Regions from separate parts of the Homo sapiens genome. Here region 2 is linked to region 1. The links are contacts of gene promoters, found by promoter capture Hi-C in human tissues and cell types (Jung and others, 2019). All regions are on one chromosome and are shown on one strand. The core of a region is centred on a gene start or on the middle of the fragment in contact, and the rest is flanking DNA. Distances in the headings are between cores, read along the strand shown.

The links. The method cuts DNA at HindIII sites, captures the fragments that hold promoters and counts their contacts. A contact is called where the count stands out against the background at its distance.
Region 2: a fragment that was not itself captured here is called in contact with the fragment with the promoter of CCL21 in region 1 in 1 of the 25 tissues and cell types used here (pancreas).

The regions. Positions count from the first base shown.
Region 1 is chr9:34,705,841-34,711,520 of GRCh38, reverse strand. CCL21 (C-C motif chemokine ligand 21) reads left to right here and starts at 1,385. Exons shown (of 4, transcript NM_002989.4): 1 at 1,385-1,521; 2 at 1,624-1,744; 3 at 1,839-2,021; 4 at 2,094-2,516. The coding sequence starts at 1,455. The coding sequence ends at 2,127. It also overlaps a transcript of PHF24 not described here. The HindIII fragment of the contact is 9,492 bases long and covers 1-5,109 here.
Region 2 is chr9:34,767,493-34,773,447 of GRCh38, reverse strand. It overlaps a transcript of PHF24 not described here. Among named protein-coding and RNA genes, the nearest start is that of SPATA31F1, 41 kb to the right of the region's middle. The HindIII fragment of the contact is 8,791 bases long and covers 1-5,955 here.

The DNA.
Region 1 (5,680 bases), core at 136-2,635:
TGGTTCACACTTGTAATCCCATTACTTTGGGAGGCCAAGGCGGGTGAATTGCTTGAGGTCAGGCGTTCGAGACTAGCCTGGGCAACATAGTGAGACCTCGTGTCTACAAAAAATACAAAAATTAGCCAGGCATGGTGGCCCCACTACTCAGGAGACTGAGGTGGAAGGATCACTTGAGCCCAGGAGGTCGAGGCTGCTGTGAGCTGAGATTGTGCCACCGCACTCCAGCCTGGGTGACAAAGCGAGACCCTGTGTCAAAAAAAAAAAAAAAGATAAAAGCTAGTATTGTATTTTTAGTTTGTAGCCCCACTTTTTTCTATATAATTTAAAAGGAAAATGCATTAAACAATAATTATAAATCTATGTCAATGGGAACACAATGTATAAAGATGTAATCTGTGACAATAACAATATAAAGAAGGGACTAAAATGTATACGAGCAAAATGTTTATATACCATTGAAACTAAGTTGGTATTATTCAAACTAGGTTGTTATCAGTTTAGAATGTTAATTATAATCACCAAGGTATCCATTAGGAAAATAACTACAAAATATATAGAAAAGGAAAGCAAAGGGGAATCAAAATGGTTATGCTACAGACCAGGTGCAGTCGCTCATACCTATAATTCCAGCACTTTGGGTGGCCAAGGCAGGAGGATCGCTTGAGCCCAGGAGTTCAAGACCAGACTGGGCAACATAGCAAGACCTCATCTCTAGAAAAAATAAAAATGAAAAATGAAAACAGTAGCCGGACGTAGTGGCATGTGCCTGTGGTCCCAGCTCCTCAAGAGGCTGAGGCAGGCAGATCATTTGAGCCCAGGAGCTCAAGACTAGCCTGGGCTAGACATCGTGAAACCTCGTCTCTACAAAAAAAAAATAGAAAAATCAGCCAGGCGCAGTGGTGCTTGCCTGTAGTCCCAGCTCCTGGGGAGGTTGAGGTAGGAGGATCACTCGAGCCCAGGAGGCGGAGATTTCAGTGAGCCAAGATCAACCACTGCACTCCAGCCTGGGTGACAGAGTTAGACCCTGTCTCAAAAAAAAAAAAAAAAAAAAGAACTCTTACAATTTAATAATCAGATTTGCTGGAAGGAGGGGAAGGGTATGGATCCTGGAGCGTAGTGAGGAGACAGTCATGGTGTTCCAGGGGAGAGGCAGTGAGGCCTGCATGAAAGCAGTAGCTGGGAATAGAAGGAAGGCTCAGGCCCAGACATATTCAACTAATGAGGACATAAAATTTGGCAGCTGAGGACTGTCCACTTAGTTTGAGATAAGTGGGGCTGGGTGCCAGCAAATCCAGCTTTCAGGAAGGAAAAGGAGTGGGGATAAGTTAAGGGAAGTGAAAGTGTCTAGCTACATAAATAGCAGGCCAATCCCAGCCCACGCACAGACCCCCAACTTGCAGCTGCCCACCTCACCCTCAGCTCTGGCCTCTTACTCACCCTCTACCACAGACATGGCTCAGTCACTGGCTCTGAGCCTCCTTATCCTGGTTCTGGCCTTTGGCATCCCCAGGACCCAAGGTACCAAGGCAGGGAGGGGCCTTGCATGGGGCTAAGGGGATCAAGAGGCCTGGATAGGAGCTTGCCAGCAGCCCCTGGCTCCCTGTGAATCCCACCCTGCAGGCAGTGATGGAGGGGCTCAGGACTGTTGCCTCAAGTACAGCCAAAGGAAGATTCCCGCCAAGGTTGTCCGCAGCTACCGGAAGCAGGAACCAAGCTTAGGCTGCTCCATCCCAGCTATCCTGTGAGTGGACACAAAGGGGTGGGTACTGGCTGGTGACGGGGTGGGGAGGGCATGGTGGGCAAGACTAAGAAGGCTTACTAGCCCCCACCCGCAGGTTCTTGCCCCGCAAGCGCTCTCAGGCAGAGCTATGTGCAGACCCAAAGGAGCTCTGGGTGCAGCAGCTGATGCAGCATCTGGACAAGACACCATCCCCACAGAAACCAGCCCAGGGCTGCAGGAAGGACAGGGGGGCCTCCAAGACTGGCAAGAAAGGAAAGGGCTCCAAAGGCTGCAAGAGGTGAGGAATCTGAGGGATGTGGGTAAAGGGGAGCCTCAGTCAGCCCCTCACACCCCTCTTCTGCCCTCACAGGACTGAGCGGTCACAGACCCCTAAAGGGCCATAGCCCAGTGAGCAGCCTGGAGCCCTGGAGACCCCACCAGCCTCACCAGCGCTTGAAGCCTGAACCCAAGATGCAAGAAGGAGGCTATGCTCAGGGGCCCTGGAGCAGCCACCCCATGCTGGCCTTGCCACACTCTTTCTCCTGCTTTAACCACCCCATCTGCATTCCCAGCTCTACCCTGCATGGCTGAGCTGCCCACAGCAGGCCAGGTCCAGAGAGACCGAGGAGGGAGAGTCTCCCAGGGAGCATGAGAGGAGGCAGCAGGACTGTCCCCTTGAAGGAGAATCATCAGGACCCTGGACCTGATACGGCTCCCCAGTACACCCCACCTCTTCCTTGTAAATATGATTTATACCTAACTGAATAAAAAGCTGTTCTGTCTTCCCACCCAAGTACCTGTTCCCATGTGTTTATGTCCACCGAGATGCCAAGGTTCCTACAGGGTGGGGTCACACACTCTGAGCCGAAAGCTCAGGCTGAAAAATGCTATGTTCTCATCTACCCCAAGAGTTTCCTTGCCTCTCAGGTGCCTGCACCCCTGAGCAGTTAAAGGGAGGCTGAAGGACAGGGTAGGACCCAGTCTTCTGAGGCATCCTGCCAATGGAGAGGTGGTGGACATGGAGCACACACCCCCAACAGCTCTGCAGACCTCTGAGACCCTGATTCTGTCCTGCACTAACTCCAGGGGTGACCTTCGGATCTTTTCCATGACCTTCAGACCTTTCCCCAGATATCCCAGAGGCTTCCTCTCTTTTCCCTGGGAACTATTCAATGAGACCCTCCAAGTGGTTCTTTGGAAGGGTCCCTAGGAGGGAAGCTGTGGCTTGGGCCCATCTATAACACAGACAAACACAAGTTATATTGAAACCTGCCCTAGCACAGTTCCAGCCCTGAGAGAGCCCCTGGGAGGCAAAGACCCGAGGGGACTTGCTTCAGCCCTATTCAGTGAAGCTCGGGCCTTGACCTCTCCTCTTTGTTTAATGGGGCTGTTGTGCTCTCCTTCTATTCCTATCTGGGCCCCTGGACTCACTCAGCCTCCTTCCAGATGGAAAAACCTCCTCCCTTTTTTTTTCCTCCTTTCTTTCCTGGCTGGGATCCAGACTACTTTAGCCCATTTAACCCTTTGAAGTCAAGGAATAAGTCTCCTGGGGCAGGTTTTCAGAACCCCAGGATTCAGGTGTGAATCAGTCTCCTCTCCTGGAAGGCCTCAGATGGCTCTCCTCTACCTCTTCCTCCCCAGAGTGAAGACCCTTCTATTCCCCAAATCACCTCCAGGCGGGGAGAGTAGAAGCCATCAGATTGGGCCAGACAATGTGAGAAAGAAGGGAACAGATCCTGGGGAAGGGCAAGAAAGGTAGGAACCTCAAGGCCGGGCGCGGTGGCTCAGGCCTGTAATCCCAGCACTTTGGGAGGCCAAGGCAGGCGGATCATGAGGTCAGGAGTTCCTGACCAGCCTGGCCAACATGGTGAAACCCCGTCTCTACTAAAAATACAAAAATTAGCCGGGCATTGTGGCGGGCGCCTGTAATCCCAGCTACTCGGGAGGCTGAGGAAGGAGAATCACTTGAACCCAGGAGGCGGAGGTTGCAGTGAGGTGAGATCGATTGTGCCATTGCACTCCAGTCTGGGCGACAAGAGCAAGACTCCATTTCAGGAAAAGAAAAAAAAAGGAGGAGAAGAAGAAGAAGAAAGGTAGGAACCTCAGAAGCTAGAAGTGGCTGCTCCATCAACTTTTCCTTCTGTAGGAGCCTGAGTATGCCACAGCACTTACCACCTATCCTAACATCCTCAAGTATTGGCTTGTCTGCTCCTCTTGCAGCAGGTGAAGACAGGGCCTCTCCCCTGCCTGTCCTAGGGCAGCAGGTGTGAAATTAATCTATAAACTCAGATATGCAAGAAATACTACTTTTGAAATGTTCCTTAAATGAACTTAATTCCTACTCCAAGCTACTGCACTAGAGTGCTGATGAGAAATTCAACATCAGGCACTCTTGTGGGATCCCACCTGCCAAGGGTTATGCAAAGGTCACAGAAACCTCAAGGCCCAAGGGAGGCCTCCTACCTGCCTCCTACACCATCCTATCATTGGACATCAGTCTCGCCAGTGAGTGTTCTGACCCCTGTGGTTCCAGCAGGTATATCTCTTCAAGTCCTAGACTCCACATTTGAGACATAAGAATTCAGATATGACAGCCTCTGGGCTTGGACTTGACCTCCCCAGATACCCCCGAAGCCATCTACTCAACAGTCCTGTCACTTGCCCCATCACAGACAGAAATTAGAGCCCAGTGCCCACTCTGGCTGGATGTACACACTAATCCCTTCGCAGTCCTAAACAATTGTCTCCCTCTCCTCAGCCCCTCCAGGGCATAACCTCTTCCCCAAGTTTACAAGTTTACTTTTTTTTTTTTTTAAGGCTTGCTTTGTAGTCCAGGCTGGAGTGCAAAGGTAGGATCATAGCTCACTGTAACCTCAAACTCCTGGGCTCAAGGGATCCTCCTGCCTCAGGCTCCAAGTTGCTGGGATTACAGGTGTGAGCCTCTATGCCCGGCATTTTCCCCTGGTGTAAGACATTTACAAAAGGCCTTTGACGTCAGGCTCCCTTTGACATCAGGACATCACTCCCAGCCCTGCCAAAACTCTTGCCTACTCTATAGTGAAAAGAAAAACATAGGCAGAAAAAACAAAACTCTCTATTTCACTAAATTCTCCTGCCACACCTGCATGCCTGGTATTTGCCTCAAGCCCTGCTCTGAGTAAGCATGCAATATATTATTTATTCCATCAGATCATGACTGGCCACTCTCCTTGTCTGCCTTCATCTTTGACAACATTGTCCTGTTCTTTCTCTTTTCTCTCTTATTCTCTTGATGCATAATTCAAAAAATATCACATAATACACACTCACAGTTAAAAAATATATCCAAAAGTACCAAAAGGTTTATTCTGAATAACATAATTTCCTACAACTTTAACTCCTATGCTATTTCTTAGTGCCATATGTCTAAGTACTTTGCCTATACCTCTGTTTCTTGATTTACCTATTTTAAACATTACCAGATGACTTCCTACTATAAAAAGTGAAGATCTAACTCTCTTGCCAACTCTCCTCTCCTGTCACTGCATCCTCTAAATATAGTCATACCATAATATTTAGATCATGATTATATTACCATATTTAGATCATAATTACAGTTTATATTATTGTGGATTACTATTACATAATATGTATTATCACATATTACATTATTTTGACTATATAAATGTTCTCTGCAGACAAAAGTAGTGCACTTTTCCTTCGTCACTCATCTTTTTGTTTTTCTTAAAGGTTCTAATGCCCTTCCCTTTTTAAAATACCTCTATCTTGACATTGCCTTTCAAATTCTTCATCATATGAGATGGATTCAAAACATAATGTTTAAGATATACGTAGAAGAAAATATAGGTGAATGTGGTTATAACTTCGAGGTATAAAATAACTTTTTTTTAAAATAAAATGGAGACCAGGTCTCACTATATTGCCCAAGCTGGTCTTGAACTCCTGGGCTCAAGCGCT
Region 2 (5,955 bases), core at 2,788-5,287, 59 kb before region 1:
TCCACCAATTTTTTTTTTTTTAGCACTTGTTTCTTTCTGGCACTAGAAGATGCTTCAAGCTCATCTTGCATGTTTTCTGACCCAGTCCTAAAATCAGCCATTTCTCTAAGAAGCCCTGCTTCGTTTTATTGGAGGATGGTATTAAAAACCAAACTCTGGGCCGGGCACGGTGGCTCATGCTTGTAATCCCAGCACTTTGGGAGGCCAAGATGGGCGGATCACCTGAGGTTGGGAGTTCGAGACCAGCCTGACCAACATGGAGAAACCCCATCTCTACTAAAAATACAAAACTAGCTGGGCGTGGTGTCGCATGCCTGTAGTCCCAGCTATTTGGGAGGCTGAGGCAGGAGAATCACTTGAACCCGCGAGGCGGAGGTTGCGGTGAGCCGAGATCGCGCCGTTGCACTCCAGCCTGGGCAACAAGAGCAAAATTCCATCTCAAAAAAAAAAAAAAAACAGAACTCTGAGAGCTAGATATGCTCATTGCTACTGGTGCTCCTGGTCTTTTAGATCCTCTCAGCTGACAGAGCAAGGAAATAGGTATGTATACTAACCGGTATATATACACATATTTGTAAATATTTCTACATATTTCTATTTGTAACCATATGTATCTATATTAAGCTAAACATGAGGTTATACTGGTATTGCCAACTGTAATCCACTAGTACATGGATCATGCTAGCCTCCTCCCCTGCTCATCTGCAAATTCCCACTCCAGTCGTAAGAAACCTGGCTCCACACTCCATCATCCACTTACTACATTTAGTTCAGTGAGGATTCCTTTTTAATGTGTAATTTTAAATAGAATTTTGAGATTAAATGTGCATTCATGTATGGAAAGAATATTTTCCATTTTTATTTTCCTACTTATTTACCTACTTTGTCATTTTTAAATCATTTTTATTCATTCTTCTTTAATCATTTTTTATATATCTTGTATGAATACACATAGCTAACTATTACTCCATAAAAGATTTTTGTCCGACCTTCCTCTCTGCAAGTCCTTAGCCTTTTAGGTTCAAACCAGTCACGTAGGTTGTTTCCAGTTTTCTTCTCATAAATCATTTGATGAACATACTAGGTAATCAATTTTTATACACACAATTATTTCCTTAGGAAAAATTTCAAAAAGTGAAATTATTAAGTCTAAATATTGGCATATTTTAAAGCCTTCGATATCTCTAAGGAAATTTCCCTCCAGAAGAGTTTTTACAACTCACATTCCCATCAGCAAGGCTCTTAGGCGTTGTTGACTGATCCTAGGAATCAGTCTCTTGGGGAGTTTAATTTAATTCATTATAACTTGTTCTTATGGCATAAAGATACTGAAATCTGAGCTGAAACCTCAGCTGAAACCTGAGCTGAAACCTTTGTAAGGCTGATTTAATGTTCAGAATTAAGAATCAGCTTTCAAATTAGCTCTCTTAATATTTAGCACCTGGTGTTATTTAACGGCTATTATCTTGATGAATTTCCATAATAAAACACAGCTTTTAATCTTAAATCCTAGCATGTCTCAGCCAATCTCAAAATGAGGATGGGGACAGGGACATTTTATTGATCTGTTTGACTGAAGCCTCCGCAACCTTACCCTTGGAGAAATGCACCACAAAATGTTTTCTTTAAAACAAATCATTCTGGGTTCGAGCCCTGGTTCAGACCTAAATTCCTAACACCGCAGCTGTTAGGTTTCTCTCTAGAATGTACAATCAAAATCTTTCTCCTGATTATTTATAATGATGGAATAGTTCTGTACCTTGATAGCAGTGGTGGTTACACACATCTACACATATGATAAAATGGCATAAAGTAATCACATACATTATATAAATGTAAATTTCCTGGTTCTGATTATTTTATTATAGTTATATAAAATGTAACCATTGGGGAAAACCCAAGCAAAAGGCTTATATGTCCTCTCTGTACTATCTTTGTAATTTTCCATGAGTCTATAATTATAGTCATATACCACATAATAACTTTTTGGTTAATGATGGACTGCATACACAATGGTGGTCTCGTAAGATTAAACTGTATTTTTTCTGTACCTTTTCTATGTTCAGGCATACAAGTACTTACCATTTTGTTACAAGTGCCTGCAGTATTCAGTACAGTAACATGCTGTATAGATTTATAGCCTAGCAGCAATAGACTACGCAATATATAGCCTCAGCATGTAGTAGGCTATACCATCTAGGTTTGTGTAAATACAGTCTATGATGCTGGCACAACAATGAAATTGTCCAGTGACTCATTTGTCAGAATGTATCCTCGTCACTAAGTGACACATGACTGTATTTCACAATAGATATTTATTTATTTATTTACTTCGAGACAAAGTTTTGCTCTTGTCACCCACACTGGAGTGCACTGGCTCAATCTCGGCTCACTGCAACCTCTGCCTCCTGGTTTCAAGTGATTCTCCTGCCTCAGCCTCCCGAGTAGCTGGGATTACAGTCATGCGCCACAATGCTTGGCTAATTTTGTATTTTTAGTAGAGACGAGGTTTCACCATGTTGGTCAGGCCAGTCTCTAACTCCTGACCTCAAGTAATACACCCACTTCAGCCTCCCAAAGTGCTGGGATTATAGGTATGAGCCACCATGCCCGGCCACAATAAATTTTAAAAATCTTTCTCCAAGAGTTACCTTAAGAGACTTTAATTTTTTTTTGCATAGATAATACACTCACACGGTTTCAAAAGTGTTGCCCTCTTCCCTTTCTCCACCTAACCCATACCGCCATCCCGTTTCTATTGCTTCCCCTAACTTCTTTTCTTCTATATCTTTCTGGTGTTTTTTTGTATAAAATATAGGCAAATATGAATATATTCTTATTTTTCCCACCTTTCACACACAAAGGGTATGTGTTAATTTGGGTCCTCTGAAAAGCTGTTGTCAAGACAGACTTAAATGTGAGAATAATTATCAGAATTGGGATTATTGGGTCAAAAGGAAAATATATTTGAAATTAATAATAAATACTTCTAAAATTTTTCTCCACAGGAATTGTACTATTTTGCACTCTCACCAATGAAGTGTGAGATTGCAGTAGCTCCTCATCTTGCCAAAAGAGTGTGCCATGAAACTTTTGAATTTTGTCAATCTGCTGTGAGAAAAAAGGTGTGATTTTAATTTGCATCTATCTTATAAGTTTGACCATCTTTTCATGTCTTTAGGGGTCATTAGTATTTCTTTTTCTGTGGACTGTTTATGTCATTTGCCAATTTTTCTGTTGGATCATTGGGTACTCTTTACATATAAGGCAAATCAGTGTTTTGTCTAATAAGGTTTGCAACTTTTTCAGGTTGTAGTTTGTCTTTTGGCTTTGCTTATAGTGTGTTATACTATGCAAAACACACTATATTTATTCTATGTAGTAGAATAAATTAATCCTTTATTTTATGGTTTCATTGTCTTAACTAAAAAGTCTTTCCTCTCAATAAGGTTCTAAAAGAATCATTCCATGTATTCTTCTACTATTTTCATGTAAGCACTATTTATATATGATTTTTTCAAATTAAATCCTCTATTAATTTGAAGTTAACCCAAGTATATGATACAACCTATGAATTTGCCTATCTTTTTCAAGAAGGCAAGCCAGTTGTCCTAAAACCATTTATTCAAAAGATATATGTTTATTCTACTGATTTGAGATGCTACCTCTCTCGTATACTAATACATACATGCTCTATTCCTGGATATTTTGTTCTGCTCTGTTTGTCTGTCAGTTTATGCATAAGTACCATACTGTTTTAATTATTAAGACTATATAGTCTCTTATTAACTGACAGCACTAATCTCAGTGCTATCATAGTTCTTTCTTTTAAGAGTTTTCCTGGATATTTTTGCTTACCTTCAACCATAAATTTAGAATCAGCTTGTCTAATTGGGCCCCCTAACCAGAGAAATCTATTGGCATTTTTGTTGGGATCACATTAGTTTATAAATTACCTTGGGAAGAATTGTTGAGTCTTTCTATCCCTTAGAATATGGTATATCTATTTGTTCAAGATTGCATTTATGGCCAGGCATGGTGGCTCATGCCTGTAATCCCAGCACTTTGGGAGGCCGAGGCAGGCGGATCACCTGAGGTCAGGAGTTCAAGACCAGCCTGGCCAACATGGTGAAACCCTATTTTGCATTTTGTAAAAATACAAAAATTAGCCAGGCGTGGTGTTGGGTGCCTGTAATCCCAGCTACTAGGGAGGCTGAGGCAGGAAAATCACTTGAACCTGGGAGGCGAAGTTGCAGTGAGCCAAGACTGCGCCACTGCACTCCAGCCTGGGTGACAGAGCAAGATTCTGTCTCCAAAAAAAGGATTGCATTTATATATTTGAAAATGATTTACCTTTTTTCTCAAAAAGGTTTTACATATTTTGTTTCTGGGTATTTATTCCTTGTGTTGCTATTGTAAAGGGGACCTTCTTCTCCAATATATCTTCTAATTGTCATTTGTATACACAAAAGTTTTTTATTTCTGCATATTAATTTTTATATTCTGCTACCTGACTGAATTCTCTCTCTCTCTCCCTCTCTCTCTCTCTCCCCCCACCTACTAGTAGTAGTAAATTTTAGTTGATTACCTTGGGTTTTTCAGGAATACAGTCATACCACTTTCCAATAGTGACAGTTTTACTTTCATTTTACCATTTTTTAATGCTTTCAATTTCTTCCTGTTTTCCAGTTGTGTTGCTCACTCCACTCTCTACCAAACAAAGGCAATGAAGAGCAAGATAAGCAGGTAGCGGGGCCAGAAGAAGTCTTTAGTGAGAGTGTTCCTTAGGTTTGTGTTTTGTCATAGCTTTTCTTCTATTATAGCCACCAACGTACGCCAGGCACAGTGCTAAATTTAATTTACAACATCCCATTTAATCCTACAAGCATTCTGTGAAGTTGATATTACTATTGGCTCCATTTTACAGATTTTTTAAAAAGTCTGAAATGCAGAAAGGGAAAAAAATTGCCCAAGGTCACAAAAAAAGTGGTAAAAGTAAGATTCAAATCTAGGTCTAATTCCAAAGAAACCACTCAACTACCATGCTAGTTACATACACCCCAGAATAGCATAAGGTGCCCTTTGCTGTAACTTTCCAGAAAAGAAGGACTCTGGTCTTGCTGAGGCCCATATTTGAGCCGTAGTCTGTGGTTTTGGCCGGATCCAGATTCAAGCTTCTTAAACAGCTTGCATGGGATAGCCCTAAAATATCCCTGAATGTGTTTCCCATTGCCCATAACCTCTGAAAGAGAATAAGCTCTGGGAGTGCAGAGTCTAATTTTGTCTTTGAACTTGTCATTTGTAGCCATGTCCAGTGAAATAATGTAGTATGCGCATGAGCAGAGGAGATAGATGCAATATGTCTGTCACCATTCAAATATAGCATTTGCAATGCCCCATGAACACAGAATTCTGGTGGACCAATGTCTGAGTTCAGCAAGACTCAAAGTGAGTACAAGGTAAGCATATTATGGAAGCCACTGACTTCCATAGTGTCGGTAGATGTGCACGCATCCAGAATATGAATTCTGTAATGTTAGTGATACCGCATGAAAGTGAAGTGCTCTGATATTTACATTTAAAACTGACAATGGGGGCAGCCAAGATGGCCGAATAGGAACAGCTCCGGTCTACAGCTCCCAGCGTGAGCGACGCAGAAGATGGGTGATTTCTGCATTTCCATCTGAGGTACCCGGTTCATCTCACTAGGGAGTGCCAGACAGTGGGCGCAGGACAGTGGGTGCAGCGCACCATGCGCGAGCCGAAGCAGGGCGAGGCATTGCCTCACTCCGGAAGCGCAAGGGGTCAGGGAGTTCCCTTTCCTAGTCAAAGAAAGGGGTGACAGACGGCACCTGGAAAATTGGGTCACTCCCACCCTAATACTGCGCCTTTCCGACGGGCTTAAAAAACGGCACACCAGAAGACTATATCCCGCACCTGGCTTGGAGGGTCCTA